Linked DNA regions of Homo sapiens: regions 1 and 2 are each linked to region 3. The links are contacts of gene promoters, found by promoter capture Hi-C in blood cells and fetal thymus (Javierre and others, 2016). All regions are on one chromosome and are shown on one strand. Each heading gives the region's core, a stretch centred on a gene start or on the middle of the fragment in contact. The rest is flanking DNA. Distances are from core to core; before and after follow the strand shown. Region 1 overlaps HMGN3 (high mobility group nucleosomal binding domain 3). Region 2 overlaps HMGN3 (high mobility group nucleosomal binding domain 3). Region 3 holds the start of SH3BGRL2 (SH3 domain binding glutamate rich protein like 2).

Region 1 (3,408 bases), core at 680-3,179, 410 kb before region 3:
ACCCCATCTCTACTAAATATACAAAAAATTAGCTGGGCCGGGTGGCATATGCCTGTAGTCCTAGCTACTCAGGAGACTGAGGCAGGAGAATTGCTTGAACCTGGGAGGCAGAGGTTGCAGTGAGCCGAGATCGCGCCACTGCATTCCAGCCTGGGTGACAGAGCGAGACTCTATCTCAACAAACAAACAAACACACACACAAACAAACACCCACAAAAAACAATTAGCTGGGCATGGTGGCACATGCCTGTAATCCCAGATACTTGGGAGGCTGAAGTGTGGGAATCGCTTGACCCTGGGAGGTGGAGGCTGCACTGCACTCTAGCCTGTCTTGTCTCAAAAAAAGAAAGAAGTTTAAATATTTTAAACCTCTTTGGTCTGAGCTGTCCCTTTCACTAGAGTTACCTTTTTTTTTTTTTATGTGCTGTGGTTTTGTACAAACATGGCCATGCAGAAAGCACGTGGCTCAATCAGAAGCCTGAATTCCAGTCTGGCTCACACCTGACTTCTCTAGACTTGAGTTTCTTCACCAGTAAAACTAGTTAAGATGGACCTTAAGATCTCACTCACCTGACTAACTTAGCTACTTGTGTACTTATTTATCACACTATAGAAGTGCCATGTGTACATCATGGGAATGCCAAGCACTGGGGTATCAGGAAAGCAAAGGAAAAGGAGCACAGCAGAATAATGAAGATGTGTACTGCAATTATGTGCAAGGCAATGATTGAAATGATTTAATCTTCACCGCAATCTTATGAGGTTGGTAAAACATGATTATATCCATTTTATTAACTAGGAATTGTGGCCAGAGAGGTTGAATAACTTGCCCAAGATTAGTCAGCTGGTAATCTTGCTGGTAAGTATTAACAGAAGAGCTGGAATTCAGCTCTTCTAGGCTGGCTCAAAGTTCATACTCTTATCCACTACACCATTCAAAGTGGTTTGTGTTAAGTGTTCTTAATTTCAAAACTGGGTGCAGATCTGGGATTCTAGAAGAGCAAAAGCCTTCCAGCTTGGGAAATGCTTTAACCTGTAGCCCTAGCCAAAGAACAAATGATATGTAAAGGAGTGCTTCCTATTCTCCATCATTCATGAGCCTCTTGAAATAATAACAAACAATAACCTATTAAAAATAGTTTATGTTGAGTTGAACAAAATTTTAGTATTATTCTGGGTTTTTAAAAAGTCATACGCACGGATCTGGTTGTTTTTATCTCAGTATTGAAACCAAAAACATACACCAAATCATCTATAATTTTTTGTAGTACTTTACATGTTCAGTGTGCTTCCATATGGTTGTTGCATTTGATGCTTTCAATATTTCTGAGATAAACAGGGGCACAGTCTTAATATTTCCATTGTACAGATGAAGAGTAGAGCTTCCAAGACGTCAAGTGACCTTCCCGAGGTAAAAAGTGGCAGAATTCACACTAGACCAAAGTCTCTGTATTGTTATAACAGGGCTCTTAAAAGAGATGTTACCAGATGGTTACTTTATTATTTTCCTGTTTGCTCGGACATACATTAACTTCTGGCAAATGGTAAACACAGTTATGATGTTCCTTGTATTTTTGCAAAACTAATCAGCTGGCTGTAATGTGATCTACATATGGTTGCTTAGGACAAATAAAATTAAAAATTGTAATTAAGGGGTAAAGTAAAGCAATGAGAAGTAGTCAGAATATAGTTTGTTAAAAAATGTATTAAATAAAATACATATGGAACTTAAGGAGCCTTTAAAGCTTCACATTTTGATAACTTCGTCTTTGGTACGTTTTCTCCCATATACATCATGCCTTACTTTTCATACCATGAATTTCTACAATATAGAACTTAACTAATTCTGTCCAATATTATAAAAACATCCCACAGTTTCCACCTAAGAAAGAGACAAAGAGTGAGCAAAAAGTAAAAGAAATAAGAAAACCAATACCTCTCAGGGTAGATTTTGTATTTCATTGTATGGGGTCAAAATAATCAAAATATAATTTTAAAATATCACTTGTACATTTAAAAAATAACATCTGAAATAAAACATTAGTCAACTGGTAATCTAGCACACCTAAATAAAAATCCATCCAGTCCTAGGTCCAGTGGATTTTCCTAGCTATTAAGCTTTTATTCTTCACGAGTTCCAAAAACAAAAGCATCTACTTATTTTTTAAACCCAGTCCCTAAGTAATGACAGCTTAATATTTACATTAAAATCCCTCAATATATTGTATAATATGCAAGCGTATTTACATGTTCCTGTTCACAAGGGAGTATTCCCATTATTCTATATATAGCAAATTGATGAAGACAATGTATCATGGAAGTAGCAAATCCAGCAGTTCACAGTGGAATCTGAGAAAATTATAAAGAGTCAGACTTTTAATACTCTAAACAATCAATATTTAGGTGAGGAAACTGCATATGTGTATCTTGTCTACAACCCTACAGTCCACTAGTTACTGAAATACCTAGAAGATTTCATGGTAATGCTCCTCTCTTACCAAGAACAGAACTGCACCCTGAGGCCAGCCTTAGGGCAGGATCACAAATAATAATGACTTGTTGGGTAACTTTCTACAACAGGCATTTAGAAACCATGGCACCAGCCTATATTGTAATAAAGATATTTTAAACAAATGAACACTCATGTTTACGTAACTCTTGATTCCTCCATGTTTCATTCATTAGGCACTGTAGTTAAAATAAAAATACATGTGGTTATTAGAAATAAACATATACAGAAAGTATTATGGTGTAATAGTTAACAGCAAAATTCCTGAGTAAAAGAGGGCTTGGTTAGAATGCTGGTTCTATCACTTCCTAGCTGTGTGACCCAGAGGAAATTTGTTAATCTCACTAAATCCCAATATTTTCCTCTGTGTTTGAGAAAGGCTGCAGGGTTCACTGGTTAAGATCACAGGCTCTGCAGCCAGACTTCAGGAGTGAAATCCCAACTCAGCCATTCCTTATCACAGGTGCTGTGGGGAAGTCTGTTAACCTCTTGGTGCTTCAATTTTCTCATATGTAAAATGAGAACGGGAAACGGACACACCTTACTGGGTGGTTGGAAGAATTAATATTATTAATGCAAAGTGCTAAAAACAGTCTGACTCATAGAAAGAGACCTCTTTCTTAGCTGTGAGATGAAATTGCTTCATTAAACTGTTGTGAGAATAAAATGAAAAATGAAATTATAGTATATACTTCTCTCGCATTTATTTCTAATAATTTCACATTTTTATTTAAACTAAGGTGCATTATGAATACAAAACACGTATCTCAGGTCTGGTACACCCAGGCATTCAGGAAATAGCTCGATTTTGATATTAATTCAATTTTAATAGTAGTAAGTATATTTGTGTTAATTACTGACATTTCTCTTAAAATATTAAATTTTGGAGCCAATTTCGA
Region 2 (3,464 bases), core at 728-3,227, 430 kb before region 3:
AGTTACACTGCACAAATATGAGTCTCTGTGAAAATGTAGTAACAGGTTGCACAGAAAGTCCAGTGTACTTTCTCTTCTGTGGAAAACACAATGATTCCTCTCCTGGATTTGTTCAGTGGACCTCCCCTCCAGTAAGGGGAGAAGTGGTTCTGCCATGGAGAGAGCAGCTGCAGGACTTGGGGAAGGAGGAAGCAGAGCTGGGGAAGAACCCAGCCAGGGGGTGGCTCTGTGGCTGCTTTCCAATGAACCCCTCACGTGGAGACATGTGGCTTGCATGACTAGAAAGCTGGGAAGGTGCAGGGAAATGAAGCCCAGATGAAGAAAAGTTCCTAATTTTAAGACCAAACAACAAAAGTGAGTTCTGTTTCTGAAATCACCTACTCATGCCACTATACACATAAGTTTTAAACAATTCACATGGGACAATACCAAAGGGCAGAGTGCAGAAAAGCCATTTTGGGTAAGTTCCCTAAGAATTCTGTACCTCAGTTTCCTCATCTGCAAAACAGGATATTTGTATCTACTTCAACAGAGTTGATGTGAAGGTCATATGAGTAAAGCAATCAACCTTATCTGCCATACTATAAGGGCCTTATAAATGCCAATATTACCTGCTGGCATTATTATATTATTATTATTAGACCTCAGACTGGCCTGCGAAATCCAGTTAGATGAAGTCAGAAGCCCCTTCCCAAATTCCTCCCATAGTGGGGCAGTGCTGCCAGGGCCCAAACTCATCCCCGCTGTGTGCCGCATGAACCGCATGTTCACGAGGCTGCTGCCAAACCCCCTTCGGACATGAGGCTTCTCAGAGCAACATCTCTGACTTCCCGTGCCTCACTGACCAAATGGAAAACACACTCCTATTAACGCAGAAAACTGTGCTTTATGCCTTTAAGCAAGCCCGTAACAGTGGTAATGGTTTCAGTTTGGATCATTAAATACGGCCTTTCTTTGAATGATTCTGAGGTAGGGAATTATAATTTATTCATTGTTTAAAAAGCCAAAAGTGGGAAACAGCACTTCTTACCTTAGCAGATGTTTTTCTTGGTTTGGGTTCAGGTTTTGGTGGAGCAGGTTTCTGCAAAGATAATTTAAATTACACAAATACTGAAAAAAAAAAAAAACTATCAGCACCAAAAGAAACACAAAAGGACTAACAAAGACAACTATCCATTTTGACATGGCTTTGGTCATTAAAAAGTATTTCATCCTATTTTCAGCACCAGGTAACAGCATAAAGATCTCTGCATTTCATAACTATTTTCACCCTGGGTTCACAAGGGAACTGCAGGTGAGATTGAAAAGCCGACTCCTTATTCCCTGGTCCAGAATAGCTCTCCGGGAACAGGTCTAAGCTTCTATCTCCAATGTGTCTGCTCTTCCTTTTATCACAGCACAGCAGCAAGAGGAATGACTCAGGCCCATGGCCAAAGGACTCAATGAATTCAGTTGCACTGGCCTTCCTAACAGTCTAGAAATCACAGCACAATCACTAGCAAAGCCCAACTGGTAATGAAGACTGCTGCCTGTGAAGTATTTCAAAATCACTTCCAAATCCTTCCACTTCTAATGTAGATTTCGAGTTCTGTTGCCAAGCTTCTTCCTACTTTTATTCTCCCCAATGCCAGCTCAAGGTGAGAATCTCTTGTCTAACCAGATATGCTGGGCTCATTTGTGTCTAAAGGTTTTTATTGAGAACATCATTATAATGATAAAATGTCTACTGTTAGCTCCCAAAGTTTAAATTTTTCACAGATATTATTAGCCAAACAGTCCCCTAGGAAACTATTTTTCTCTTGCCTCATGTGGTCCTCCTCCAGTTCCCATGAGCAGCACCTGCACACCGTGTGACCATGGACCCTCTGCCACACAATGCTTCAGCCCTGGCCAGCTTCCCAGGGGCCTGAGACCAGGTGGCACATGCGGATAACTGGGGAAAGATAACCATTTTACACCAGGAGTTTTCTGTGGATATTTTAGGGCAAATATTTCTCTCATAGAACTAGAAAAAAGTGTACATCTCTCCTGGCACTAGAAGAATGGTTTTAAAATAGAAAACACTGGCCAGGGTCTCCCCCTATGGAGAAAAATACATGTTCCTCCCTAGTGCCTCTAGGTAATTCACGTTCACACTGAATCTGCCCCTTTTCATCAAGGGCATAAAGTGAAATTGTAGACAGTTTGATTTCAGAAGATTGGCTGTTAGAAATGACCTTTCAAATAAAAAAAGAAAATCGAGCTTGAAAAGTTAAGAAATGTTTTTATTAATCTTCTTATCACCCTAAATCTGCAGGCCAAATACAGCAGCTTTCATGGCTCTTACATTTTCAGAATTTAAAACATTTTGTCATCCTAAGCTTTGATATACTGTATTAATATACATGTTTTCTCCATTTACAGTAAACAATTTCCTTTTATATTATTTTCTGTAGGACAGACCTTTCCCTCTGACCCAGCATTCAAGTGTTTTGATAGGACCAGGAAATGAGGTTTTGTAGTCTGTAATCCTGCTGGCCTCTGAGGAGGCTCTGTTTCGGTAGCACAGGGAATGATCTCAGTGGAAGGTGCTTATATTGCTGGTTTCTGGTGCTCAGGAAAAGCTTTGTTTTAAACTTTGGTTTTCATTTGACTTACAAGGTCTGTTCCCTTAACTGCCTGGAGATTCACAACAGCAACCCCAGCTCTTAAGTCCTCCTAGTGACTGACACCTCTTCCTAATATGGTTTAGCTGTGTCCCCACTCAAATCTCATCTTGAATTGTAACTCCTACAACTCCCATGTGTCATGTGAGGAACCCAGTGGGAGGTGATTGAATTATGGGGGTGGGTCTTTCCTGCACTGTTCTCATGATTAGTGAATGAGTCTCATGAGATCTGATGGTTTTAATAACAGGAGTTTCCCCGCACAAGCGCTCTCTCTCTTTGCCTGCCACCATCCACGTAAGACATAATTTGCTCCTTTTGTCTTTCTCCATGATTGTGAGCCTTCCCCAGCCACATGGAACTGTAAGTCCAATTAAACCTTTTTCTTTTGTAAATTGTCCAGTCTTGGGTATGTCTTTATCAGCAGCGTGAAAATGGACTAATACAGTAAATTGGTACCAGAAGAGTGGGGCACTGCTGAAAGATAATGAAAATGTGGAAGTGACTTTAGAACTGGGTAACAGACAGAGGTTGGAACAGTTTGGAGCGCTCAGAAGAAGACAAGAAAATGTGGGAAAGTTTGGAACTTCCTAGAGACTTGCTGAATGACTGTGACCTTTCCTAAAGATTTGTTGAATGGCTTTAACTAAAATGCTTATAATGATATTGACAATGAAATCCAGGCAGAGGTGGTCTCAGATAGAGATGAGGAACTTGTTAAGAACTGGAGCAAAGGTGACTCTTGTTACGTTTTAGCAAAGAGACTGGCAACATTTTGCCCCTGGTCTAGAGATTTGTGGAACTTTGAATTTGAGAGAG
Region 3 (3,681 bases), core at 4-2,503:
ACTTCTATTTAAAATTTTAAACACGAAGAAGAAATAAAGTCCCATTAGGAGTGTCTCTTCTATTATTGAAGGAAATTTAAAAAGATTCCTACTACAGAAATGGCTTTAAGAAAAGCAATAGGAAAGGTTATAAATTTGAAATATTCATAACTGTTCTAAAAAATACTTCATAATGATTGCTCTTTGTGCAAGAAATGTATCAAAGAGCCAGAGACCTCATCATCTAATTTCTTACTTTTTCTTAATTAACATTGTTCCCAGACCTCTGCTAAACTCCCGTGTTGAAAGGAAAAAAGTAAATACAGTACAGCAGGGAAAACTGGTTCCTTTCGACAAAACTGAGAGAGAGGCTTGAGCTTTTGTCAAACAGAAAGCACTTGATAAAAAACTATTCCTAAACTATTAGCAACTATATAGAAGCTTTTTATTTAACAGCATCCTCCTGGGAAACTGCGCTGGAATGTGCAGCGGTTCTGAAAAAGGCACAGATTTGGCTGAACTGTAAATATTAGGTGCACAGAGGCGAAGCCATTGTGTAGGGAGGGGTGGGGCAGGTAGGGTCCTGATTTCCAATGTTGATAGAAGGATTCCAATTTCGTTTGGTATTTATTTTTTTCTACTACAATTACAGTTTTGCTGAGAAAAATAAAATATTGGTTGTGCTTCCATCTGGGTTTCTAATTTTCAGTGTGTACAGACAAGAGAAGACCTCTCATTTACCCAAAAGAATCACCTTTCTGCAATCTCCAGTGCTACTGGACAAACAAACGAGCCCAACCCCACCGCCCACACCTCCCAAGCACCCGGCTCGCCGATCCCGCCTGCTTCAGGTAGCTGGGGTTTGCCCGGTACGCCAGCGGCCCTGAGACGATGTGTGCCCGCAGCACGATCGTGTCTGTTGGCATTTCTGGGTGTGGATGCTCCAAACCAATAAACCACAATACAGAACCCAAGCTTGGACTTTGAACCGAGCCCTTTTGCCTAGTTTGCTTTTTCCTCATCAAGCCAGGATCCTTGCCAACCCACCTCACAGCTTCTGCCCGGGCTGTGGCTCCCCTCCAGCCACCTGCGCGTGTTCGGGATAGAAGCGCGGTCAGGAGGGGAGCTCAGTCCACCAGCCACTCCAGGGAGAGACGGAAACTACAAATCCCATCAAGCCCCGCAGCCGGCTCCCTCCTCCTCCCTCTCCTTCCCCTTCAGCCTGCGGCCGGGCGGCGCTGGGCTTTTATCTGCGGACCCGCCGGGAGGGAGCCAGATCCCAGCGATCTTCCCCGACGGCAGCGCTTTACCCAGAGGCTGCCGGCGGCTCGTAGCTGGGTTCAGCTCTGCGTCCACGCCAGCCCGGAGCCCGGGGGGCAAGGGGTCTGTCCCGGGCGCAGCGAGAGGATGGTCATCCGCGTGTTCATCGCCTCTTCCTCGGGCTTCGTGGCGGTGAGCGCGGTGGGGGCGGGCAGTAGGTTGGGGTCGCGGGGCGCGGGTCCTGCGGGAGGCGCGCGGCGCTCGTCACTGCGCGTCCTTGCGCTCAGCCGGTCCGCCCGCGGGAGCCCGCGCCCGGCAGGTGATCCATCACACTCCGACAACAATGAAGAGGGCGGGGAGGAAAGGTGGGTGGGGGACCCCGGCCTCACCCAAATGCCCACCCTGCGTGGCCTGAAAGGCAGACAACGCGGCCTGAAAATGGAGTCCGAGGGAAGCCCCCAGCTCCTGTTGTGTGGCATGGAAATTTGGGGAACGGGTTGTTCAAGAGCTTCGGGGATCCCCCTTCCCCTAGTTTAGTTCTTCCCGATTTGGGACCTTCAGACTGGTTATGTTTTGCACGGGAGCCTTTTCTGCTGCTTTGGTTTGTTACCCTAGCTCCTGAATGAAGCAAGTTTAAGTGGGAATTGCTCTCTGTCCTCCCTTCCCCGCCAGCAAGTGCATTTGTTTAGTTTTATACCTGCGCAAAGAGAATAGTAAAACTAGGTTTGTCCTGTTGTGGTAGGATTGTTTGCTTTCACTGTCATTTTTTTTCTTAGGGTGCCATAAATATTTTTACATCTTTATGTAAATGTGTGTGTATGCACGCATTTTCTTTCCACCTGTAATGCTGTGGAAATTTTATCCTGGGGATCTATGAATTGTGGTTTTCTATTTAATTATTTTTAGCTATTCTCTTTGGTGGATGTTCTTGAATTTTTTTAGAGAAAAAAAATTTTTTTAAAGAAAGGAAAGTTAAATAGCTAGAGATGTCAGAATTTAAGGAAAATTCAGTAGTTAGTATATTTGACAGCCCACTAAGGGACATAGCACATGTGTTTTACATGATTATTGAGACTTGGTTTCCTTAACCAAGAGTTCAGCTATAGATTTAAGAGCCTCCTTTGTGACATATATAATCAAGTAACATCAAAAAGTGCATTGTAGATTGCTTAAATTTGGTCTGGTCAATTGTCTGCCCAGTAGCTCAGTCAGATTGTTCCAAAATTTGTTTCTTAAGTGGGTGGAGTGGAGGATGGAATAAAATATTGTTTGAAAATCCTTGTACACCACTGAAGTTTTTTATTTAAAAAGAAACCAACACGATCATACAAAGCCCCTCCACCCCCATTTGCACTAGAAACAATAGATGGGAAAATCCAACTTACACTTATGTGCAGTCATGTTGGGGTCCTCAGACTTCTGACAGTTTCTGGTGTTTCTAGCTATTTGGGTTGCTTAGTCATGCCTGCCTTTTGTAGATTTCCCCACTGAAGCCACACTTCATGTGTTTGCAAACTGGCACTGTTTCAAGGGTAGATTTGTTCAAATGCACTCCTTACTAAGAATGCTACAAAGCTCTTGGTTTCACCACCGACTTGCATGCTTCAATAATTGTCCCAATAGCATTATATTGATTATGGAAGGAATGGTTTTTATCCCTTCCACAAGAGATAAAGCCTAGGCTACTTTGGAGCAAGTCGGACCAAGTCAAGGTAATGACTTGGCTTACTCTATTAGTAGGTAGTATATTGAGATAGTTTTGGTACTCCACATCTTTGTTTTTTCAGTGCCATTGGCAAATATTTATTGCCTGCCTGCTGTGTGCCTTTTTAACTTTTAAATTTAATGTTTTGTGTTTTGCACATGGAGCTAAAATTAAGAGACTTAAGTTTTAGTGTGGGCCCCAACTAGTGCAGTGTAAGCCTGGTTAAGGTACCTCATCTCTGCCTGAGTTTCTCTTCTGTAAAATGAAGGATTTTCATGGATAACTCAGAATTGCACACTCTAGCTTTAAAGTATTTTGACTTCACCAGGTGAGTAAATATGGATGAATCCTTATAACAGCTTCTTTTGCTTGAACAATATACCTACCTATTAGTCTCAAGGTAATAGGTATACCTATACCTATTAGTATAATACCTATTAGTATAATAATATACCTATTAGTCTTCTTTCCTTGGACATTTTATTGTGAAGGCTCAGATCCCCTCAATGCCCTGCCTCGTAGCATGTGTTCTGACATGGTTTCATTTGAGTTAGAAGACATACACAGTTACCACATGCTTACAGACTATAAACACTAATTATCTATTTTAATATTCTGCTGTTTGAAGACCCAGTCTTTTCAGGTTTTAGAAAATCCTTGTTTGTTCAGTCTCCTCAATTATATCTTATATCAATACAGTTATTCATTGAGTCTCCCCAATTGTAGTTTTATCTCCT

The links. The method cuts DNA at HindIII sites, captures the fragments that hold promoters and counts their contacts. A CHiCAGO score of 5 or more calls a contact.
Region 1: a contact is called between a fragment that was not itself captured here and the fragment with the promoter of SH3BGRL2 in region 3, in 1 of 17 cell types (megakaryocytes). The highest score is 7.0, in megakaryocytes.
Region 2: a contact is called between a fragment that was not itself captured here and the fragment with the promoter of SH3BGRL2 in region 3, in 1 of 17 cell types (megakaryocytes). The highest score is 5.1, in megakaryocytes.

Annotation. Positions count from the first base shown.
Region 1 is chr6:79,223,334-79,226,741 of GRCh38, forward strand. The region is part of intron 1 of HMGN3 (high mobility group nucleosomal binding domain 3); the gene reads right to left. Among named protein-coding and RNA genes, the nearest start is that of HMGN3-AS1, 8.6 kb to the right of the region's middle. The HindIII fragment of the contact is 373 bases long and covers 1,744-2,116 here.
Region 2 is chr6:79,202,550-79,206,013 of GRCh38, forward strand. It overlaps HMGN3 (high mobility group nucleosomal binding domain 3), which reads right to left. Exons shown (of 7, transcript NM_001201363.2): 4 at 1,031-1,081. Among named protein-coding and RNA genes, the nearest start is that of HMGN3-AS1, 29 kb to the right of the region's middle. The HindIII fragment of the contact is 761 bases long and covers 1,598-2,358 here.
Region 3 is chr6:79,630,076-79,633,756 of GRCh38, forward strand. It overlaps SH3BGRL2 (SH3 domain binding glutamate rich protein like 2), which reads left to right and starts at 1,254. Exons shown (of 4, transcript NM_031469.4): 1 at 1,254-1,431. The coding sequence starts at 1,387. The HindIII fragment of the contact is 2,885 bases long and covers 953-3,681 here.